3 separate regions of the Homo sapiens genome follow, and all the other regions are linked to region 2. Evidence: promoter capture Hi-C in 16 types of primary human blood cells and fetal thymus (Javierre and others, 2016). All regions are on one chromosome and are shown on one strand. Each heading gives the region's core, a stretch centred on a gene start or on the middle of the fragment in contact. The rest is flanking DNA. Distances are from core to core; before and after follow the strand shown.

What was found. The method cuts DNA at HindIII sites, captures the fragments that hold promoters and counts their contacts. A CHiCAGO score of 5 or more calls a contact.
Region 1: a fragment that was not itself captured here is called in contact with the fragment with the promoter of CECR3 in region 2 in 1 of 17 cell types (erythroblasts); the score reaches 5.5 in erythroblasts.
Region 3: a contact is called between a fragment that was not itself captured here and the fragment with the promoter of CECR3 in region 2, in 12 of 17 cell types (endothelial precursors, M2 macrophages, M0 macrophages and 9 more). The highest score is 9.7, in endothelial precursors.

What each region holds. Positions count from the first base shown.
Region 1 is chr22:17,579,306-17,583,116 of GRCh38, reverse strand. It overlaps SLC25A18 (solute carrier family 25 member 18), which reads right to left. Exons shown (of 11, transcript NM_031481.3): 3 at 3,153-3,372; 4 at 1,958-2,080; 5 at 1,704-1,759; 6 at 464-554. The coding sequence starts at 3,172. LOC101929372 (a long non-coding RNA gene) reads left to right here. Exons shown (of 4, transcript NR_171783.1): 3 at 1,569-1,783; 4 at 2,786-2,962. Among named protein-coding and RNA genes, the nearest start is that of SLC25A18, 18 kb to the right of the region's middle. The HindIII fragment of the contact is 361 bases long and covers 2,381-2,741 here.
Region 2 is chr22:17,265,424-17,268,904 of GRCh38, reverse strand. CECR3 (cat eye syndrome chromosome region, candidate 3) reads left to right here and starts at 2,172. Exons shown (of 3, transcript NR_038398.2): 1 at 2,172-2,382. The HindIII fragment of the contact is 21,393 bases long and covers 1-3,481 here.
Region 3 is chr22:17,526,394-17,530,341 of GRCh38, reverse strand. The region is part of intron 9 of CECR2 (CECR2 histone acetyl-lysine reader); the gene reads right to left. Among named protein-coding and RNA genes, the nearest start is that of SLC25A18, 35 kb to the left of the region's middle. The HindIII fragment of the contact is 2,175 bases long and covers 374-2,548 here.

The DNA.
Region 1 (3,811 bases), core at 1,312-3,811, 310 kb before region 2:
AGAGAGAGCTAGAAAGTGTTTGGGGGCTGATTTGTTTTTCCTGAGACGAGGTCTCGCTCTGTGACCCACGCCGAAGTGCAGTGGAGCCAACATGGCTCACTGCAACCTCGACCGCCTGGGCCCAAGCGATCCTCCTTCCTCAACCTCCTAAAGTGCTGGGATTACAGGCATGAGCCACTGCAGCCAGCTTGGTGGCTGATTTTTAAAAATTTATTGGCTAGTTGATGGATTTGTCTGTATATGCTATATGTTCTCTATATTATCTGTCACACTTCCAAAGTATACCAGCTCATTCTCTCCCTTCACTCTCCAGCAGCCCAAACACACACCAGCCCTCAGCCATGTGTGCACATATTTATATGCATGCAGGCAGGTATACTGAGGCACATTTGAAATCTTCTTCCTGCCATCTCTCCCAAAAAACACACAGTGAAGGATCCAACCCCACCCCACCTGGCCATACCCATCTTCCATGAGCAGCCGCCGGAAAAAGTCGTTGGCCGCCAGCTTGATGGCCTTCTCTGGAGTGACCAGAGTGAGGTTCACTGCAGCCCCTGGAAGTGAAGGACAAGATGGGGAGTCAAGGCCATCCCAGAAATAACAGTGCCCCAGGTCTGCCCTTCAGCCCTAGCCAGGCCAGTCCCTGAGTGAAGGGCATTTTTGGGGCCAGGTGGGGCTCCTGAGCCTAATTCACTGAAATAACTTTCCATTCCCACTCCCTACCACATTCTCCTTTTTTTTTAGATGGAGTCTCGCTCTGTCGCCCAGGCTGGAGTGCAGTGGCGCGATCTCGGCGCACTGAAAGCTCCGCCTCCCGGGTTCGCGCCATTCTCCTGCCTCGGCCTCCCTAGTAGCTGGGACTACAGGCGCCCGCCACCACGCCCGGCTAAATTTTTTTTGTATTTTTTAGTAGAGACGGGGTTTCACCGTGTTAGCCAGGATGGTCTCGATCTCCTGACCTCGTGATCCGCCCGCCTCGGCCTCCCAAAGTGCTGGGATTACAGGCGTGAGCCACCGCGCCCGGCCCCACATTCTCCCCTTTTTACGTATTTTTTTCTTACGGACTCCTCAGTTTGGTTATCAGGAAGCCATTTTATTTTTGTTGCTGCTGGTGGGGTCGCTGATGATAAAACAGCAGTTCCAGTGACAGGCGCCAGGCGCAGGGACTGGGGTTCCGCTCCTCTGTGCCGCACAAGCCAGTCCCATTGGCTGCTAGCTCGGGGCTGTCTAGGGTTTGTGTTTTGCTTCTCGGCGGCACAAGCATACGAGCTCCGGCTCAACTCCAGCTTGGGATCCATTGTCCAAGGTACCTCCTGGCTGGGGACCCCGCAGGGACCGCAGCAACGCTGGACCGAGCTGGGGAGGAGCCACCCAGAACTCCTTGCCAGGAGCTCAGGCCCCGTCCCTCAGTCCCTTTCAGCCTCTCTCTCTTCGCTTCTAGCCAGGCAGAGAGAGGCAGGCAGGTAGGGAGGGCTCGCCTGCTCTTACTGAGGCGGTGGCGGGGGGTGTGCTCTGTGGGTCTCCGGAAGCCTTACCAGGACCCAGAGCTGCCTCTGTCTCCACCCAAGAGCACAGAGGCTCATCAGGAAGGACCCCCTGGCAGCCCTGGCCCCATCCCCGCAGCAACGGAAGGAACACCAGTTCCCCATGTCCCATACGCTCACACCTGCTGCCCAGCCTCCCAGGGGACCTGAGAAGCCCACCTCGGTACATGCCGAAGAAGCCCTCCGCCCGAGCCGTCTTCATCAGGCAGTCGATCCTGGAAGCAGAGGCCAGAGTAGGAGTAAGTGTGCAGCGGGCCTCCCAGCCGCCTCCATGCCCTGCTCCCGCGGGCACATCCCAGCTGATCAGATCCCCAGCCCCCAGGCTCACGCGCGCTGCCTGGAGACTGGAGGGAAGGGGGCCCCATCCCTCCCCCGGGCGCCTCTGCCCTCCACGCTCGCCTGCCAGCACCTACATTCCTTTGTACATGGCTTTCCCATGCTGGTTCTGCAGGCGAGTCTTGGCCAAGTCGATGGGGAACACGCAGGTCACCCCCACGAGCCCTGCTACACCTCCATTGATGAGTTTGGCTGTGATGCTAGGACAGGGGGAGGACAGGGGGAGGAGAGAGGCAGAGGGAGGGGCAGGTTAGGGAGCGGATGCAGCCAGGAATGGGCAGGGGCACAGACAGTGGGGAACCCCAGCCCCACAGGTGTCCAGAGACCCTCTTCAGCCTCCCTGGCCCAGGTCTGGTCCAGACAGGACAGCCGCACTCACCCGGGTGAGGCATCTTGCTGCAACCCGGGAAGTCCCTGGAGCTGGGACCTGCAGGGGCTTCTGGGAGGAGCCCAGCTCTGCCCCCATGGGCCGCCACCAGGGCACCGCTCTGCCCCAAGCTTCCCCGGCCCGTCCTCTGGCTCCTCCGCAGGCCTGGAGCCACGTGTGCAGTTCTCACACAAACGGACTGAAGGTCAGGCAGAACTGAGTTTGCATCCTGACTGTGACCTCTCCTCTCTGGGCCTGCATTCCCGTCGAACTCACTCCAGGGTTGCTGAGGACTATGGAAACCGTGCCTGGGGGGGAATGCCAGCTATTGTTCATAATAAGAGAGCAGGCACTTCCCACAGTGAAGGCTTCAAGTCGGTCAGCCCTTGAGGTGACCTAGTTCCAGCCAAAAGTAAAGCCACAGTTTAGATAACATGGCCCCCCACCCTGCTGGGTATAGGAGCTTTGGAAGACGGGAAATAGAAAACAAAGCTTTCTCAGACTCCTTGGAACCCACTCAACTTTTCTTATCTTTCAGGCGGGAGGCAGACTGTGAACAAAATATTTGGAGATGGATTTACCTGGAAGTGGTAAGAGTAGATGATAGTGGGCCTTTCACAAAGGAAGAAACTTGGGACGATAAAGAGAACTGTAAACTTAATTTTGTAGTTAGAGAAGATGAACCCAAACAATTAAACTATGTTGAACAATAACATATATGTGCACAGATGCTTGTGTGTACGTATTTGCCACAGTAGATGTAGTGTATATGTTATATGGGGGACAGGGGTCTTGCTCTTCCCTAGGACTCAGCTTGTTCTTCAGAAACCTGGATGTGCTATCACCACAGCGACTCTCCGCCAGGCCCAGGGCCCAGGGCCTCAGGCTGCCCCAGCCGAGCTCACCTCAGATCCTGGTGGGTCATTCTGCAGGGGCTGGGGATCCCAGGACACAAGGCTGCTGGCTCCTTGGGGTAGCCGCTGTTGGGGCTGTCTGGGGGAAGAAGTGGAAGCTTCCTTGGCTCTGGCCCCGTAGCAGTGTGGACAGAGCACGGGTTTTGAGTGCAGCCTGGCCCGAGCCACCTTCCCGGCAAGTGACGACCTCCTTGGGCTGCGGCTTCCTCCCCTGCAAAGTAGTCAGAGAAACACTCACCTCACAGATGGGCGAGGACGCACGTCACTAGTGGATTCATGCGGCCCGCTTGCTCCACTTTTTTCCCTTCCTAAACCTTTTGGACTTTGGGATTCAAATCAGAATCCTCGAACTTTTGGACTCTGGGGATCAGATAAGAAGGAAGGGGAATGAGAGAGAAGGATACAGCAGCCTGCTGAGGCTGGAGGAAAGGATGTCTGGGGCATTTTGGACAGAGGCATGGGAGTGGCACTGGAGGAAGCAGAAGGGATGGAAAGGATTTTAAGAGGAGTTGCTATGAACTAGGAATCCCTCTCTTGGTGTCCAAGGACTACAATAAAATACTTAAGATGGCCGGGCGTGGTGGCTCATGCCTGTAATCCTAACACTTTGGGAGGCCGAGGCGGGCGGATTGCCTGAGCTCAGGAGTTCG
Region 2 (3,481 bases), core at 923-3,422:
AGGATCCCAACAGAGACTGACAAAGCCAGAGACCCTGATGGTTTAGGATTCCAAGGTTTCTTATGCCTCTAGCTGCTCAGCCAGGAGCTTTCTTGATTTTGTGTTTTTCAAATGAGAAGCATCTTACCAGCTAAGTAAGTCTAAGAGTGTCATGACTCATGGACCTTGGAAACCAATGGTCAGTAGTTTGGGATTCTTTGGGTGGATCAAGAGATTTTCTTGGGGACCTAGGAGCACCTCGATGTGTGGAGGGCCTGAGCAGATGGACTAGTGCCCTCCTCTGGATGGAATTGGAGGTTCCCCTTACGCCCCAATCCCTCCACCCCTGCCCTGGGGCTTTTTTTTTTTTTTCTTTTTTTGCTTGGTGGAATGGGAGAGTACTTTTCAAAGTTACAGTTACATAGAAAAGTTAAAATCACAGCACTATTGCATATCTGAGTGCCAAGAATTACGTTTGTCTTGCTGCAGGTGAGGGAAATGAGGTCACTTCTCAAGAAGTTTGCATTTTCTGAGAAAATGTGGACACAATGGAAAAGCCAAGGCATAAAACCATACACCTGAGAAGGCTGAAGCAAATTGCTCCAGGACTTACAGCACAGTGGGTACGTGTTCCGCAGGTGAGAGGCAGCCTCTGCAGAGGCTGACAAGTCCTTTTTGGATGACACTGTGACTCAGCCCTCATATTCCCCTCTCCAGGGCGATGATCCACCTGGTGCTGTGGCTGCTGAGATTCTAGTCATCCTACTCGCTCTAGGCTGGTGTGATTCTTTTGTTTGTTTGTTTGTTTGAGATAAGTCTCGCTCTGACGCCCAGGCTGGAATGCAATGGTTTGATCTCAGCTCACTGCAGCCTCTGCCTTCCGGGTCCAAGCGATTCTTGTGCCTCAGGCTCCTGAGTACTGGGACTATAGGCGCCCAACAACACAACTGGCTAATTTTTGAATTTTTAGTAGAGACGGGTTTCACCATATTGGCCAGGCTGGTTTCGAACTCCTGACCTCAAGTGATCCGCCCACCTCGGCCTCCCCAAGTCCTGGGACTACAGACCTGAGCCACTGCGCCTGGCCTAGACTGGTGTCATTCTGACATTTCCAGGCCACGAAGCAGTCCCAGACTCAGCAGCCCTGGGCATCTGCCGTAGCCCTGTTGTATGATCTGCTCTGCCACTCATGAGGCATGACTCACCCTCCTACCCTCTCCGAGCCTCAGTTTACTCATTTAAATCTCAAAGCCTCCACAGATAATTGGGAAATGAAAGGAAAATCGTGTAAGTATGAATACCTTCCACAGATAGCGGGATCTCATTAATACTAGTTTTCCCCTTTCCATACCTCCCAGCAAAGAAAAGTTGGTAACTGCAGGCCTCTGAACTAGTGCCCCACATCGGAGATACCGGCCACTTCTTACTGAACATTTGCCTGTGTCTACTATAAGGATATAAGATCATCTCAACCTCCCAAGAAGCCGATATTAGCACCCCCATTTTTGCAGCTAAAGAAACTTAGGTGCAGAAAAATGAAATAGCATATTCAAGGTCACAGAATGACCTGGGGCAGAGCTACAGTCTAGACCCCCATCTGTCTGATATAAACCCCATTCTATGAACCCTCAACATTGCTACTCCCCTTCCAACGCCACTGGAGCAGAAAGCTCCAAAACTGGGTGAAGCACATACAGCTCTATAGCAGGCAACCCCATTCCTGTGTTCCACCTAGTGAAGAACCAGGAGGTTGTGCATGACCAAGGTGGTTCAGGGTGAAGGTCAGGGGCTGGCTGAAAATGGAAGGCATCTCAGGCTGGGTCTTTGACTGTGATTATGTCAGGGTTGGGGCTGAAATATTGTGAGTGGTAACTGAGGTTTCAACCTCTTCCCTAGGAAAGAGTGGGGGTGGGGTGGTGAAGCTGGTTAATTGAGATGGGAGGGTTGGGGTGGGGGCAGGCAGAGCCTTCCAAGGCCTTCAGATCCGGTGCTGTTACCGTAAACAAGTGCAACCCTCAGCTCCCTGGAGGGCCTGGGGAGCAAATGCGTGCATCCCTGCTTCGTTCCCAGCAGCTGTTCACTGGAGGACGCAGCCTGCCATCCCCAGCCGACCTCCTCCACAGCCTTCCCCAGCCCCCAGATCAAGCCTCAGGAAGTGGCGCTGCTGAGAATCTCTCCTCCAGCCCTGCCTCCTGCCGAGAGTGTCTTCAGCGCCAGCATTTCCTGGCCTAATTAAGCTGGGTAATGAGTAGCTAAGAGGAGGGGATAAAAGCCCTAGGCGGCTTAGAGCTGGGACAGTTTATGACAGGGGCGTCTGCAGCTGGTGACATTCCTAGGAAAATTATTTCTCATAACCCTGGGAAGTTGCATGCTGTTTCCTTAGCAGCAGAGTAAGCCTCAAAGGTGAGCATGGGGAACACTGCATCTTAAGGGGGCCTGACTGGAGGGTCCTAAAGGTGACAGGTGGGGGGTGCCATGTGTCTGTAGGACTGATCAGAGCTGCAGAGCAGCTACAGGCCACCCGGGCTAATGCCCTTAGCTTAGTCCGAGGCCGGGGCATCCGTGGTGGCCACGTGACTCCCCAGGGCTTGGGTTTTGTGTTTCTTCTGAATGATAGGACTCTGCACAGCATGCAGTTTCTAAGACCGTATCCTTTCAGGGAAGGAAATCTGAGCTAGAGGCTCTGATCCTGACTCCTCCGCAGCCCACTATTAAGGGTGTGAAAATTGTGTTTTGGAAAATATCAGGTGCCCCAGCAGCCAGGAGTGGGTAGAAGAGCTCTCAGACAGGGGCCCTGGGGGAAAGGGGAAGGTGGGCACCAGGCGCTCTGGACACCAGGGCCCGCCCTTCCAGAGACACTCAGGAGCCCAGCGTTGATTATCCCCACTCCCACTCTGCAGCCACAGCCTCAGCCCCCAAATTCTCCTTCTTTGGCACTCAGTTTTGTTTGTTTGTTTTTTGTGTCAGTTCTGTTTGTTTTTGTTTTCTTCAGTCACCTTGCACTCCTTCCTTAGTTGGCCAGGGAACTTCGTGCTGTATGGGGTGGAGCAGGGCAAGGCCCAGGCTCTGGAGCTCGGCCCATCCCCACGTCTCTGAGTGAACTTGGGAGATCAGGTGACCTCTCAGCCATGGTTTTCCCATTTGTAGAATGAAGGCATTAGTGATGTCTAGTGTCCAGTATGTTATGAACCGCAACCTCCACTTGGCCTGTGAGTGGCGAGCGAGGCTGAAATTGGGCCATGTTTCCCAGACCTTTCAAATTAGGTTACCCAGTTTCACCCAAGAACATTTTTGCCCCAATTATCCTGTAAAGCAGAGTCATAGCTAGTGAGTATGTATTTTATTATTATTATTACTGTTATTATTAGAAACAGGGTCTCATTCTGTCATCCAGGCTGGAATGCCATGGTGTGAACATGGTTCGACCTCCCGGGCCCAAGCAATCCTCCCACCTCAGCCACCCGAATGGCTGGGACCACAGACACGTCACCACACCCAGCTA
Region 3 (3,948 bases), core at 212-2,711, 260 kb before region 2:
AATAAAAGCTCTGAGTCCTCTCCTTGAAAGTATGCAGTCATGTGCCGGGCGCGGCACCACTGCACTCCAGCCTGGGCGACAGAGCGACACTCCGTCTCAAAACAACAACAACAGCAGCAACAACAAAAGTATGGGTAATGTAACATTACAGGAGTTTTGAAAAAAAAAAAAAATTCAGGGAACTCCAAGATGAGTGACCATCAGCACTGTTGAGATGCTAGAATATAAATACCAGCATACGACAGAGGAACTATTTACAGGTAGATCTTCACATCATTATGAAATTTCTTCTCAGTCATTCCCAACACAAATATTACTCATTATGTTAAAAGGACCTGCAGAATAAAATCCGCTTAGAATGTCACACAAAGCTTGTTTCTCTGAATAAACTGTTGTAATTTTTAAAAGTGTCTGATTAGTACATAATTGATTATTTCTCTTTTTTTGTAGTTGGAAGCTACTAAAAAGTCTGGAAAAGGTTATTGTAAGTATCTTATGGCTTACAAAAATTCCTTCCATAAGAACTATCATGGGAGGCAGAGCGAGACTTTGTCTCAAACAAAGAAAACTATCATTTGTGACTTTAAATGTGTGTCAGAGACTGTCCTGTTTTCATTTAATCCTTCCTTTTTTTTTTTTTTTGAGACGGAATCTTGCTCTGTCGCCCAGGCTGGAGTGCGGTGGGGCGATCTCGGCTCACTGGAAGCTCCGCCTCCCGGGTTCACGCCATTCTCCCGCCTCAGCCTCCCGAGTAGCTGGGACTACAGGCATGTGCCACCACGCCTGGCTAATTTTTTGTATTTTTAGTAGAGACGGGGTTTCACCGTGTTAGTCACGATGGTCTTGATCTCCTGACCTCGTGATTCGCCCACTTCGGCCTTCCAAAGTGCTGGGATTACAACCGTGAGCCACGGCGCCCAGCCCATTTAACCCTTCTAACAAGGTCTGCACAGCCCATCCCAATGCGACCCTGGGCTACCTGGTAGGACTCAATTCATGCCCAGCCAGCCTTCCTGTGCTTGCTCTGCTCTGCTCCGCTCCAGCCGCGCCGGGACTTCCAGCCAGCCTTCCTGTGCTTGCTTTGCTCCCCTCCGCTGCAGCCTCGCCCTGGACTTCCTGCTGCATATCCCTGCCTCCGTGCCTCTGCTCTTGTCTGCACTGCGCCTTCCGCTTCAGGCACTCACGGGTCAACCTCATTCACTTTATTTAAATGTCAAATCTTCAGAGAGGGCTTTCTTTTTTGTCTGAGACAGGGTTTTGCTCTATCACCCAGGCTGTGTTCAGCAGGGGAAATCAGCGCTCACTGCAGCCTCGATCTCCTGCGCTCAAGGGGTCCTCCTGCCACAGCCTCCCAAGTAGCTGGGACCACAGATGGAGCCACCACGCCCAGCCATGTCACTCTTTACCTGTAAACCTGCCTAATTTTACTTCAGATCACTCACCACTATTATCCCACAATATTTGTCTACTCTCCACCTTCTCACCACTGGAATGAAAATAGTACTTCTGGCTGGGTGTGTGCTCACGCTTGTATTCCCAGCACTTTGGGAGGCTGAGGCAGATGGATCACTTGAGGCCAGGAGTTCAAGACCAGCCTGGCCAACACGGCAAAACCCCATCTCTACTAAAAATACAAAAATTAGCCGGGTGTGGTAGTGTACACCTGTAATCACAGCTACTTGGGAGGCTGAGGCATGGTAATCACTTGAACCTGAGAAGTGGAGGTTGCAGTGAGACCAGATCATGCCACTGCACTCTAGCCTGGGCAAAAGAGTGAGACTCTGTCTCAAAAATAACAAAAAAGAAAAGAAAAGAAAAAAAAAGCCATACTTCTCTGCTGTGCTATCAAATGCCAGATCATATTCATTCATAATAACTATTTTTTTTGTACCCATTAACCATCCTACCTCTCCCCAACCCTCCACTATCGTTCCCAGCCTCTGGTAACCATCCTTTTCCCCTCTATCTCCACGGGTTCAATTATTTTGATTTTTAGATCCCACAAGTAAGTGAGAATATCCAATGTTTGTCTTTCTGTGCCTGTCTTATTTCATTTAAAATAATAACCTCCAGTTCTATCCATGTTGTTGCAAACGACTGCATCTTTCTGTTTTTATGGCTGAATAGTACTCCCTTGTGTATCAGTACCACATTTTCTTTATCCATTCATTTGCTGACGGACACTTAGGTTGCTTCCAAATCTTGGCTATTGTGAACAGAGCTGCAAAAAATATGGGAGTGTAGTTATCTCTTCAATATATTGATTTCCTTTCTTTTGGGTGTATACCCAGCAGTGGGATTAATAGATTTTATGGTAGCTCTCTTTTTAGTTTTCTAAGGAACATCTAAGCTGTTCTCCATAGCGGGGGACTAATTTATGTTCCTACCAACAGTATATGAGGATTTCCTCTTCTCATTCTCACCAGTATTTGTTATTGCCTGTCCTTTGGGTATAAACCATTTTAACTGTGTAAGATGATATCTCATAATAGTTTTGGATTTCCATTTCTCTGATGATCAATGATACTGAGCACTTTTTTCATAAGCTTGTTTGCTTTTTTTTTTTTTTTTTGAGACAGAATCTTGCTGTATTGCCCAGGCTGGAATGAAGTCTTGGCTTGATCTCTGCTCACTGCCACCTCTGTCTCCCAGGTTCAAGCAATTCTCCTGCCTCAGCCTCCTGAGTAGCTGGGATTACAGGCGTGTGCCACCATGCCTAGCTAATTTTAGTATTTTTAGTAGAGGCAGGGTTTTGCCATGTTGGCCAGGTTGGTCTTGAACTCCTGATCTCAAGTCATCTGCCCGCCTCGGCCTCCCAAAGTGCTGGGATTACAAGCATGAGCCACCACACCTGGCTTGTTTTTTAATTTATTTTTATTTTTTTGAGACAGGGTCTCGCTCTATTGCCCAGGATGGAGTGCAGTGGCATGATCTCAGCTCACTGGAGCCTGGACCTCCCAGGCTCAAGCTATCTGCCCATCTCAGCTTCCCAAGTAGCTGGCACTACAGGTATGAACAACCATGCTCGGTTAATTTTTGTATTTTTTGTAGAGATGGGGTTTTACCGTGTTGCCGAGGCTGGTCTTGAACTCCTGTGCTAAAACAATCTGCCAGCCTTGGCCTCCCAAAGTGCTGAGCTTACAAGCATGACTCAACATGCCTGGCCTCGTCTGCATTTGTATGACTTCTTTTGAGAAATCTCTATTCAAATATTTTGCCCATTTTAATATCCGATTATTAGACTTTTTCCTAAGAGTTATTTCAGCTCCTTCTACATTCTGGTTATTCATCCTTTGTCAACTGGGCAGTTTGCAAATGTTTTCTCCCATTCTGTGGGTTGTCTCTTCACTTTGCTGGTTGTTTCCTTTGCTGTGCAGAAGCTTTTTAACTTGATGTGATCCCATTTGTCCATTTTTGCTTTGGGTGCCTGTGCTTGAAATCAATGTCCTAGAGGGTTTCTCCAACGTTTTTTCTTGTAGAGTTTCATAATTTGAGGTCTTAGATATAATTCTTTTTTTTTTTTTTTTTTTTTTGAGATGGAGTCTTACTCTGTCACACAGGTTGGAGTGCAGTGATGCAATCTTAGCTCACTGCAACCTCTGCTGCCCAGGTTCAAGCGATTTTCTTGCCTCAGCCTCCTGAGTAGCTGGGATTACCGGTGCCTGCCACCGTGCCCGGCTAATTTTTGTATTTTTAGTAGAGACGGGGTTTCAACACCTTGGCCAGGCTGGCCTTGAACTCTTGACCTTGTAATTCACCCGCCTTGGCCTCCCAAAGTGCTGGGATTACAGGCATAAGTCGTCACGCCCGGCCTTAGATATAATTATTTAATCCACTTTGATTTTATTTTTGTATGTGGCAGGAGATAGGGGTCTAGTTTCATTCTTCTGCTTATGGATATCCAGTTTCCCCAGCACCACTTGTAGAAGAGACTCTTTTCCCCAGTGT